4 separate regions of the Homo sapiens genome follow, and regions 1, 2 and 4 are each linked to region 3. Evidence: promoter capture Hi-C in 16 types of primary human blood cells and fetal thymus (Javierre and others, 2016). All regions are on one chromosome and are shown on one strand. Each heading gives the region's core, a stretch centred on a gene start or on the middle of the fragment in contact. The rest is flanking DNA. Distances are from core to core; before and after follow the strand shown. Region 1 holds the start of ATR (ATR checkpoint kinase). Region 2 holds the start of TRPC1 (transient receptor potential cation channel subfamily C member 1). Region 3 holds the start of RASA2 (RAS p21 protein activator 2). Region 4 overlaps U2SURP (U2 snRNP associated SURP domain containing).

What was found. Contacts are between HindIII fragments. The CHiCAGO score rates a contact against its expected background, and 5 or more counts as called.
Region 1: a fragment that was not itself captured here is called in contact with the fragment with the promoter of RASA2 in region 3 in 2 of 17 cell types (activated CD4 T cells and total B cells); the score reaches 5.6 in activated CD4 T cells.
Region 2: a contact is called between the fragment with the promoter of TRPC1 here and the fragment with the promoter of RASA2 in region 3, in 1 of 17 cell types (fetal thymus). The highest score is 11.6, in fetal thymus.
Region 4: a fragment that was not itself captured here is called in contact with the fragment with the promoter of RASA2 in region 3 in 1 of 17 cell types (fetal thymus); the score reaches 5.3 in fetal thymus.

What each region holds. Positions count from the first base shown.
Region 1 is chr3:142,576,047-142,578,755 of GRCh38, reverse strand. ATR (ATR checkpoint kinase) reads left to right here and starts at 23. Exons shown (of 47, transcript NM_001184.4): 1 at 23-110. The coding sequence starts at 52. RefSeq lists an enhancer at 73-232. The HindIII fragment of the contact is 793 bases long and covers 992-1,784 here.
Region 2 is chr3:142,722,738-142,725,437 of GRCh38, reverse strand. TRPC1 (transient receptor potential cation channel subfamily C member 1) reads right to left here and starts at 1,404. Exons shown (of 13, transcript NM_001251845.2): 1 at 707-1,404. The coding sequence starts at 878. RefSeq lists an enhancer at 1-852 and a silencer at 1,111-1,160. The HindIII fragment of the contact is 1,344 bases long and covers 734-2,077 here.
Region 3 is chr3:141,485,436-141,488,276 of GRCh38, reverse strand. RASA2 (RAS p21 protein activator 2) reads right to left here and starts at 1,250. Exons shown (of 24, transcript NM_006506.5): 1 at 1,061-1,250. The coding sequence starts at 1,193. RefSeq lists a silencer at 462-1,341. The HindIII fragment of the contact is 5,296 bases long and covers 1-2,435 here.
Region 4 is chr3:143,002,780-143,005,498 of GRCh38, reverse strand. All of the region lies in intron 1 of U2SURP (U2 snRNP associated SURP domain containing), which reads right to left. Among named protein-coding and RNA genes, the nearest start is that of U2SURP, 2.6 kb to the right of the region's middle. The HindIII fragment of the contact is 3,034 bases long and covers 1-2,719 here.

The DNA.
Region 1 (2,709 bases), core at 139-2,638, 1.1 Mb before region 3:
GACGCCGGGAACCCGCGTTGGCGTGGTTGACTAGTGCCTCGCAGCCTCAGCATGGGGGAACATGGCCTGGAGCTGGCTTCCATGATCCCCGCCCTGCGGGAGCTGGGCAGGTAGGGCTAGGCCCAGCCTGGGTCCTGCATCCTCCTCCGCTGATTCCGGCTTGGGTTTCACGTGCTCTCCCCTCCCCTGCTGCGCTATGGCTGGGATCCCCTAAGCCCCCGCTGCGGCCCTTGTGGAGATGCTCCGTGGCTGATTTGGGCGCTTCTCCCTCAGAGTGCCCGTTGATAGCACATGGGGCAGTCGCCACAAACCTGCGGGAAGCCGGTCCGTGGGGGAGAGAGGCGTCTGCCGGCCCTGGTTTACCACTCACCCCGATCGAGAGTTTGCTTCCTGCAGCTGGAGGAAGAGTCCCTGCTGATCGCTTTCTGGTCACTTTTCTACACTCATTTTCTTCTCGAAAATCTTTTTCCTTAGACGAGGGACTTGACCCATCAGTTTCTGTTCTTTGTGATCACTCGTGGAGGAATTGGTTTTTAGCCTTACATTTTGTCCCCAAACTGCCCTTGAAAGAAAATCACCGCTTCTCATTTTCTGCAAGTGACATCACTTGCTGGAAAAGGCAGTTTTTTTCTTTGAAGTGAAGTCATAGTACATACTGAAGATGTGACCTCCCTCGTATTGATCGTCCAGTTCCCGATCCGTTATTTTAGTCAGAAATTGGAGAGATAGACCCCTGGGTCCACAAAATCTCAGCGTGCACAGAGTGTTGCCAAAATTTGGAGACAATTTAATATTTCATTTGCAAATGCATGTTGTCTGTAAACCTCATGAAAACCAGTATCTTACCACAAGGAGGGAGAGGTGTTGATGGCTCTCACACCTCTTCAATACACAGGCAGGCTTCCCTGAACCAGGCCTAAAGACTCGGTAGAGCTTGTTTTGCTTTGTTTGTTTTAATTCTACACTACTGCGAACAAGAAATAAATAAGCTTGTGCTGCTACCGCAGTTAAATTATCATTTGGAATAACTGCTTCCCAATTTCTTAAACTGTTTGAAAACTTTCCACACAAAGTCAAAGCTGACATTAAGCCAATGGGATAGCTACTTCTCTTTCTTTTTGCAGCGCAGTTGTGTTCATTTCCACTGGTTGGCCATCCAAATAATCTAGTCTCAATATATGAATAAAAGGATAAATGAAGGGACCATTCTTGTCGTAACTGCATCACTATTTTTGAGTGTGTGAATTTTTTCCACTTATCTGTGGCAAGTATACTTTGTGTTTAGTTTATAAAATAACCTCTACCTCTCTAAAAGAAGAGGAAGAAAAGTGATCATTGTAGGAAGTTGGTTTACAAATTTCATCTTTCAGGCTCATTGTGAAGCTGAGTATATTTTTGCCACTTTGCTTTAAAGTAGAATTAACTGGTTAATACTTCTCTTCCCTCTTCTGTCTTCCTCCGTGAGTCCTGTTAATAAAAATAATTGGTTCTTGGATTATATATAGTCGGTTTCATCAGTAGAGTTTATGTTACCTTTCATTTATTTGTAGCTATTCCAAGAGAAAGAATAGAAAAACTGACCCACAGAGAGTTGTCTAATAGTTTTTAATTGTCATGGCTTTTTCATTACAACTACTTGAATCAAAAAAGCTAATCAATTTTCATAGTATATCCATGACATAGAATGAAACAAGTGTTACCACTGTTTAAGAAAAAGGGACAGAGAAGTTGAAGAACCAAAGGCACAGCTAGCAGATAACAGAGCTAGGTTTCAGATTCAAGCTTTCAAGGCCTTTTCTTCCAAAATGTTTCCTCTTAATTGACTATGGCAATTAGACTACTGAAAAAAAAAGATATTAGTGTTCTAATTTATGGGCTGCTCTTCCTCAGTCCCTCAGATAAATTTTGTCCTATTGTTTTTTTGCTATTAGCAGTCTGCTCTGCATAATCTTGCTAAATGACCTTTCCACTCTCCTGCCTTCAACTATAATCTGCTATTTGATGACTACTAATATGTTTCTCCAAATCATGTCTTCTATAGAATTGTATATTTACTGTATACTGGTAGTTTCACTGAGTGTCCTATGTGTAGTTAAGGTTCAGAATATCCAATACAAATTCCCCACATGTCCTAGCTTTCACAAGCTTTCTTTTTTTAAATTAAAAAAATTATTTTTCTCTTATTCATTGAAGTAGAGATATCTCAGTACATGGCACCATATTCACTTAGTTCTCCAAACTGGAAATCTAGAAGTCATTCTTAACTATTTTCACATGTGCTTTCAGTCTATGTCCTTGGCCCTCTTTTAATCTGTGCTGTCTTCCCAAGTAATCTTACCTAATCTCATGGCTTTAAATGTCATCCATATGCTGATAACTCCCAAATTTATATTTCTAGATCGGAGATATATATTAGGTTGCTTACTCAACATCCACACTGGGAAGTGAAAATTAACATATCCAAAGCAGAACGCCTGATTTACTGCGCCCTTGAATTTGTTCCTTCTCCTGTGTTATCGTAAATATGCCAACCAAAAGCCTAGGAGTCATCCTTGGTTTTTTTCCCTTGTCGCTTAATAATCCATAAGTTAGTTCTGACAACCATATGTTTAAGATACATCTAGAATCTAACACTTCTCACTGTCTCCACTGCTACCACCAGAATTTCTTACCTGAACTATTACAGTAACCTTAGTTGATCTTTCCATT
Region 2 (2,700 bases), core at 155-2,654, 1.2 Mb before region 3:
CTTTATCTCCCAAAGAAAGATCTGGGAGCAATAAATCTTTCTCTCCAATAAAAAGCACTAACAATCAAAGGCGTTCCGTAAATCCAGAGAAAGTTTTGGCAACTAAGGCAGAATTTCTTCCGTCCCGTCCTTACTTCATGTATCTCCACCTAGGATATTCCGTTATTAATGCCAGTCAACAGTCACTGGCTAAAGCACTGGTCAGGTGAAGCTAAATAATAGAGGGTCTGGTTTTGTTTTTAAGAAAAACAAAAACCAGGTGATGAGAACCCTCCATACGAGGCATCCTAAGGTAAGGTGACGGAATTTTCCGACTGGAGTGTCGGAAACTAGCCTCTCGACTCCCGGAAGGAATGAACTGCGAGCCAGAGAGAAGACCAGGTCATTCATGCGGTCAGTAGCAAGGGCGGCGCTAAAACGCTGGGGTCGGGGCTCCCAAGGCGCTACCTAAACCCCGGACCCCAAGGCCAGAGCCACCCCCGACGGTGCAGCGCTCCGAGGGCGCAGCCCCAGCTCCACTCTCCCGCCAGCTCCACACTCACAGGGCAGAGGCGGTGAGGAGAAGACCGCCTGAGGCAGCAGGCGAGGCGGGAAGACACTCGGCGCCTGAGACAGAGGGAATGCCCCGATATAAGTTGAGGCGGGGGAGAGGACTAAAGGTCTGGAGGACAGGGGCGTCCAGAGGAGAAAGGGGCCTAACTCTCACCCTTGTCGCACGCCAGCAAGAAAAGCTTCTCATTCAGCGTATTCTCCTCCTTCACCTCCCGCACATCCTTCAGCGCCATCACCTCGTTCGGCGAGGAAGAGGATGGAGAGGAAGGCAGGGAGGAGGAGGAGGCGCCCGAGAGGTCCGTGCTCGGGTACAGGGCCGCCATCATCGCGGCCCATGAAGGGGGCAGGCCAGGAGACGGGGGCGGGGCCCCCACCGGCCCCGACCCCGACCCCGACCCCAGCCACGCCCCAGGGCTGGAAAAAGGATGAGTCGTTCCCACTGCTGCCTCGGCTCGAGGCCCGTTGGCCCCGAAGGGCGTCGCCTCCCCTGAGAACCAGCACTCGCCCTCCACTGACAGCCCCAAGTTGGTGGCGGCGCATGCGCGGCCCCGGGGCCAGCGACCCCTCCCCAGCCGCCGGCGCCCCGGCCGAGCCGGTCCGCGCCCGTCCGGGGACGACAGTGTGGCGCGCGCCAGGGCGGCAGCCGAGCACGGGGCCGTGCCAGGAGTCGCAGGGGCCGCGCCTGGGGCGGCCTAGCCCAGGAAGAGGACGAGAGATCTGTGGGAGAGGAGCTCCAAGAGGCGCTTCTGCGCACGTTGGGCTCCAGGGCTGTGGGAACCGCTGGCCCAGCTGCGCTCCGAGGAGATGTTCGCGACTCTGTCCTCACGTCATCCTCTGCTCCTCTGTAGCGACGACACTAGGGAGGAGCCTGCGGCAAGGGCGGGCTTGGGTGGGCGGGGCCTGCGGCAAGCGGGGCGTGGGTGGGTGGGGCCTGCGGTGGGGACGCACTGGGCTCCTGGAGCCCGCTGCAGCTTCCTTCGCTCTGGTGAGGTGAACCGCAGTCTGAGGAAGACTTCGCTCAATCGTCCCTTTCCACACCCAGGGTACTGGTTTAAGGTAATTAAGCAAATATGGAGCAGTATGTTAATTGAGTCTCTGACGACTTAATGTTTAGTCGAAATCCTTTGTGGAATTGTCCAGCTATTTCATATTCTGGTGCACTATGCTTTAAAGCACAATGGAGAGCCAGACTCGTGGGTTTGTATGTTGTACTCATTTTAGGCTGGAAATGAACTCTCATTTATAAAGGATATATAGATATATAATTATATTATGTTTAAATAATTTATACAAATATATAAATTTTTATTTCCATATTATTTCCATAGGTTTTTGAGGAACAGGTGGTGTTTGGTTACATGAGTAAGTTCTTTAGTGATGATTTGTGAGATTTTGATGTACCCATCATCGAGCAGTATACACTGAACCTAATTTTGTAGTCTTTTATCCCTCTCCCCCTTCCCAACCTTTCCCCGAGTCCCGAAAGTCCATTGTGTCATTCCTATGCCTTTGCATCCTCAAAGCTTAGCTCTCACTTGTGAGTGAGAACATACGATGTTTGGTTTTCCATTCCTGAGTTACTTCATTTAGAATAAGAATAATAGTCTCCAGTCCCATCCAGGTTTCTGCGAATGCCATTTATTCATTCCTTTTTATGGCTGAGTAGTATTCCATCATTATATATATATCACATATATATATACCACATATATATATATATATATATATATCACAGTTTCTTTATCCACTCATTGATTCATGGGCATTTGGGTTGGCTCCACATTTTTGCAATTGCGAATTGTGCTGCTATAAATATGCATGGGCAAGTATCTTTTTCGTGTAATGACTTCTTTTCCTCTGGGTAGATACCCAGTAGTGGGATTACTGGATCAAATGGTAGTTCTACTTTTAGTTCTCTAAGGAATCTCCACACTGTTTTCCATAGTGGTGTACTAGTTTACAGTCCCACCAGTAATGTAGAAGTGTTCCCTTTTCACCGCATCCACACCAACAGCTATTATTTTTTGATTTTTTTGATTATGGCCATTCTTGCGGAAGTAGGGTGGTACATACGGCATAGCAGTTTTGACTTGGAATTCCCTGATCATTAGTGATCTTGAGCATTTTTTCATATGTTTGTTGGCCATT
Region 3 (2,841 bases), core at 1-2,500:
AAGAAAATAATGCTAATTTTCGACAAATGCAAAAATAAATGTTATTGATCTCTCTTACAAACAGAAAACAAAAAGCACTTCATCTAAATAAACCACTGTGAAAAAAAAAATGGCAACCTGACACCAAAGGGTCGTTTTTAAAACTAAAATGTTCAAATGACAGAACTCAAATAATCTGTCCACAGTAATGCTCGGACAACTCTGAGCAAAATTTCGTATTTAGTCAACTGGTAGGCTCGCTCACTAAAGTAGCAATTACACGCATGAGAAGGAAGGGAATTAAGCGGGCTGAGTGCGGGCTGGGTGATTGTGTTTTGAGACCTGCTCACAGGAAGCCACTACATCCTGCCTTTAGTCCCGCCTGTCACGCCGTCCCTCGATTCAAGTCCCGGCCGCAGCGAGGTGGGGCAAGTACAGGTGTCCCGCCGAGCTCCTCCCGGGGCGCTCACCCGCGAACAGACCGCGCGGTAGCCACTCGGGCCCCAGGGCGGCCCGTTTCCTGCAGCTCAGGGCGCCTTTTTCAACCTCTCCCAGGCTCGCCGAGCCCAGGAAACGAACAGCCCCCTCCCCTCGGGCCAGCCCCACTTCCCAGCCCGCCACCTCCTCGGGCCGCGCCTCCGTATAATTACTGCTCGGCTCCCACCGCGGGGCCACTCCCCAGCGCCCGCAGCCGCGCGAAGGCCTGAGTCTGAGGGCGGCCGGAAGCTCCTCACGCCCCCGGACCGCGCCCCCGGCCGCGCCCCGGACTCCAGCGTCCCCGCGTCCAGGCCGCTCCCCACGACCGAGCCCCTCACGCCGGCGCAGCCCGGGCTCTCCCACCCCAGGCCCATCTCCAGCTCCCACTCCCTCCGGAGAGCAGCAGCCCCGGCCCACGCCGCCCCGTCGAGGCGACGCCGCCCCCCAACACACCCCCTTCCAGCCTCAACCGCGCCCGGCCCAGGCCCCCTCCCGGGCCCGCGATCCCAGCGCAGCTCGGCGCCGCCACCGCCGCGAACCCGCCGCCCCCTCAGCCTCGCGCCCAGCGCCGCCAGGGCGTCCCCTCAGCCCAGCCCCCGCTTACAGATCTTGCCCCGCAGGCTCTGCAACACTCGAACCTCGCGACTGTCCTGGTCCCCGGCCTCGGGCTCTGCAGTCGCACTCGCCGCTGGCGCCTCGGAAGAAGCCGCCGCAGCAGCAGGCGCCGCCGCCGCCATGGTGCCGCCCGGCCCGTGCCGCAGCCCTGCCGCCTGCGTAGCCGGGCGAGGCGGAGCCCAGCAGCGGCCTAGGCCCAGGCCAGCCGCGCGCCTGGCCCCGCCCCCGGGCCTCGGCCCGACTCGCCCCGCCCCGCCCCGCCCGCCGCGGCCCCGCCCCCGCCCCCCCCGGGTCTCCATTCACCGCCTTCGCCACCCCCGAGCCGGGCTACCCTGCAGAGAACCGTACTCCCGGCTTGGGGCGCTGGCTAAGGGTAGCTCCCAGTCGTGGCTCTGAGCGGCCTTAAAATCCCCACCAGGAGAACGCCCCGGCCCTCCCGTGATCCCTAAATCCTCCCGGGAATTGGGCTCCCCCAATGAATAGACCTGCACATCTCCTAACGCTCGCGGGAAATACAGGCCCTTCCCAATCAGGGAAACTCCCTGTGGGAAGAAAATAGAATGGAATTTGGCAGGTGGGTGGACCTCAAAAGTATCTTATTCAAAAGGAGGCAAGAGATGCATTTGAGGCTCTTCCAGTATTATCCAAATACTCCCCGCCAGCAAGCCAAACTCCTCCCACACAAATACTCTTTACTAGGACCAATTCTCTGCAAAACCTGGTTCAAGAAAAGGACCAGCCACCCCCAACTCCAGCGTGAGTGCAGTGCCTGAGACCCTCTCATAGAGAAATTCTGAAGCATTTACCATCACTTTTGTATTTCAGGAACAGAAAAAGCAAAGAAGGGCTCCCCCCCGCCACCGCCACCACTACTAAAAGTTGGCTTTGTTAAAAAGTTGACTGACCCTAGGAAATGTGTAAATCTTTGACTAATTGTTAGCTTTATTTCAAGGGAACTCTTTACAGTGAGTAAACTGCATGAATAATACCCTGGTATGTGATGAGGAAGACAATTTCCTGGTGTTGAGGTTGTTAACTACGCTGCCCTAAGAAGGAAGAAACTGTGACTTAATCGGGCAGGGTAATTCTTTTCCAGGGCAACAACAGGAATAAGCCAGTCAGTCAACAAATATTTTTTGAGGGTCAGACATAGTGATGGCCTCAGACCTCAGAGACTACACAAAGGTCAAGATGAAGAGAGCTCCAGCTCATTCTGGAGGGAGACACAGAAAAGGCCAGAGGCACTGGGAGATAAGAAATAGGACGGGGAAACCTGAAAACTGAAGACAAACGCGCCGCCTGTGCAAAGGCTGGACAGCCCCAGAGAATGGTCAGAGTTTAACATGGACCTGGCCAGCGAAGCTTCCAGTTCTGCCTGTGTTGCAGGTGACTTCTATTTCCCCATGTGATCTTTACACTTGTTGGATAAAGTGAACCACTTCCTCTTATATGAATGTTTTGCTGTCATTTCAAACATAAGTCCAAAACTTAATTTCCTGTCTCCCTTTCCAAATCTGAGTTCACATCTTATACTGTTACTCAGGCCAGAAACTTTGACTTTTTCTTATCCCTTGTCCCAATGCTGTTTTCAGTTGCCACATCCTTCTGACTCTGCTGAAATCTCTTCCTTCCTTTCCATTCTCTGTCATTGCCCTTGTTAAAATTATTCTCATTTAAAGAGTATCAACGTGTTACAGGGTTTTTTCCCCCTTATTTTTAAAGGCATCCCTTTTTAGAATCAGACATAGAGCCTGTTTCTACCCCTTTTAC
Region 4 (2,719 bases), core at 44-2,543, 1.5 Mb before region 3:
TTAAGATAAGGTTACAACCATAAACCATAATAAAGATTCAGTTTAAAATTGGCAAACTGTTTGAAAGCCTGATTTTCAAGGTTTGTATTTTGTTTGGACTTTTTCATAAACTTTCAGGTACCACAAAAAATGAAAACTGGCAGTAATAAATACCTAAGGTTCACAAGCCTTGAACAGGTCCTCAGTTTACTTATTTCTTAAAAGTGATACTTTTTGTTAATCAGCAAAGGCAGTCAATCAAAACAGTTCCCAAAGCAATTCAGCACTGGATGTCCAAGGAAGCCTGTAGTATTTTGTTTTATCCATTCACCTAACTCAATTTTTGGCGATACGGCAAAAAAGAAAAAAAAAAAAAAAGCCATAGTCACAGAGTGAAATAGCAGGGCACACAATTACATTACATTAGCAATATTACCAGCACAGGAGATGGCAGAAGGAAAGAAAATACTACATTTTCTTCATATCCTAATTTTGCTGAGTAAGCAAACAATTGACAGTCAAAAACAGTAATTTTTTTATAAATTAAATTCTAAGGAAATATGCTTAACAATTTTATAAGTAAACAATTACAGGCTCTCTCTCTCTCCTCTCAAAATGAAAGCTACTACATAACATCAACACCCCTCCCCAACCAAGCAATATTTTAGACTAGTGATAAACAAACAAATGCACAGGAAAATTTTAGCTCATTTCTAGAACATTTGTTAAATGTCTACATCTGCCAGGCTCTAAAATGCAAAGCACAACAAAATTACACAGAAAATTAAAGTGCACAGGGGTCTCTTCATTAGGGACAATTATGAATAAAGGTAAGTCATTCAAGTACATACACATACATAAAGTATCATTTTAAAACTAGAAGCCAGGCACGGTGGCTCACGCCTATAATCCCCGCACTTTGGGAGGCCGAGGCGGGGGGGGGGGGTCACAAGGTCAAGAGGCCAACAGATGAAACCCCATCTCTACTAAAAATACAAAAATTGGCCAGGCGCCTGTAGTCCCAGCTACTCGGGAGGCTGAGGCAGAAGAATTGCTTGAACCCAGGAGGCAGAGGTTGCAGTGAGCTGAGATTGCACCACTGCACTCCAGCCTGGGCGACAAGGCAAGACTCCCTCTCAAAAAAAAAAAAAAAAAAAAAAAAAAAACACCCCAACTAGAAGACCTGTAGAGGTTATCTAATTTAATCTTTTTATAATTAAGAAATGTTAATAATTTTGCCATATTGTACATTTAAAATTAACATTTTCCCAATGTCTAGAAATATAATAAGCATCCCTATCCATATTAACGGGAATGTAACTACCAAAGAAAACGACGAATCATGAAACAGAAGTATCTGTTCACTCCATCTGTATTGTAAAATATAAGCCACTCATCTGTTCTTTCCAGAGGAAAGGAAATCAAACCAGATATCAAAGGCTAGAAATTCTAAATACTGTAGTATTAGCCAAAATGATCTTACAATTTCTCTAATAAATTATGTGTTAGAAATAAAAAGCAGGGAAGCAGGGCGGGGCACGGTGGCTCACGCCTGTAATCCCATCACTTTGGGAGGCTGAGGCGGGTGGATCACGAGGTCAAGAGATCGAGACCATCCTGGCCAACATGGTGAAACCCCGTCTCTACTAAAATACAAAAAATTAGCCGGGCGTACTGGCGGGCGCCTGTAGTCCCAGCTACTAGGGAGGCTGAGGCAGGAGAATCACTTGAACCCGGGAGGCGGAGGTTGCAATGAGCCGAGATTGTGCCACTGCACTCCAGCACTCCAGCCTGGGCGACAGAGCGAAACTCTTTCACAAAAAAAAAAAAAAAAAAAAAAAAGAAATAAAATAAATAAAAAGCAGCTATCTGGGCAGTCATTATGACAGCTGATGACTTAGATTCCAAATCACAGGATTAAAATTTATCCTGACATTTTGAAAGCTAAGAACTTTTGATTTCCTCTAAAAACAAAAAGAGGGGAAAGAAATTAAGATTTATTATGTACTTCATAGACATTATCTCATTTGATCCTTATATCAACCATGTAAAAAAAGAATTATATCTACATTACAAATGAGGGAATTGAGGCTCCAGAGTTTAAGCAATCTGCCTTATTATCGCAAATATAATTAATTACCAAGTCAGGATTTGAACCCAAATCTCTTGTTAACAAAATTCATAATCTTCCCACTACATTATGCAGCCTCCAAATTAGTTAAGATATTCTGATTCCTTTCACAGACATCAGTAAGAAATCTGCTAATAGCATCAAGAGATTATAATCTAAGGCAATATAAACAGAAAAGATTACTGGATAATCCAATAATTTATTTATTGAGAACAGCCATACATTCAGTCATGAGAAGCACTATTTTAGAAGGAAGCCTGAACACAGACATTGAAATGTTTTCAATGTATCCAAGACCTCAAGTAGGGAATACTTAAAATATTACTTTGAGAAGAAACAAAAATTGTGAGGCTTATGCACGACTTGTTATGAACGTAGCTAGCTTTAGTAATAGCTCCCTAACGGTATGTTCTTGTCAGGAGTCTGTTGAGAAGAGTTGGTAGAGCTCGCCCCCAAAGAGAGGGAGACGAGAAAATGTACTGAGGAGGGGGAAAAAAAACTGACACAATACCTTGTAAAGAAGCCGAAACTGGCCCCTCACCAAAGTTTCTATGTAACTAAACGATGTCTGTTAAGACCATTACTAATTATGAATTAATTATTTTGGTG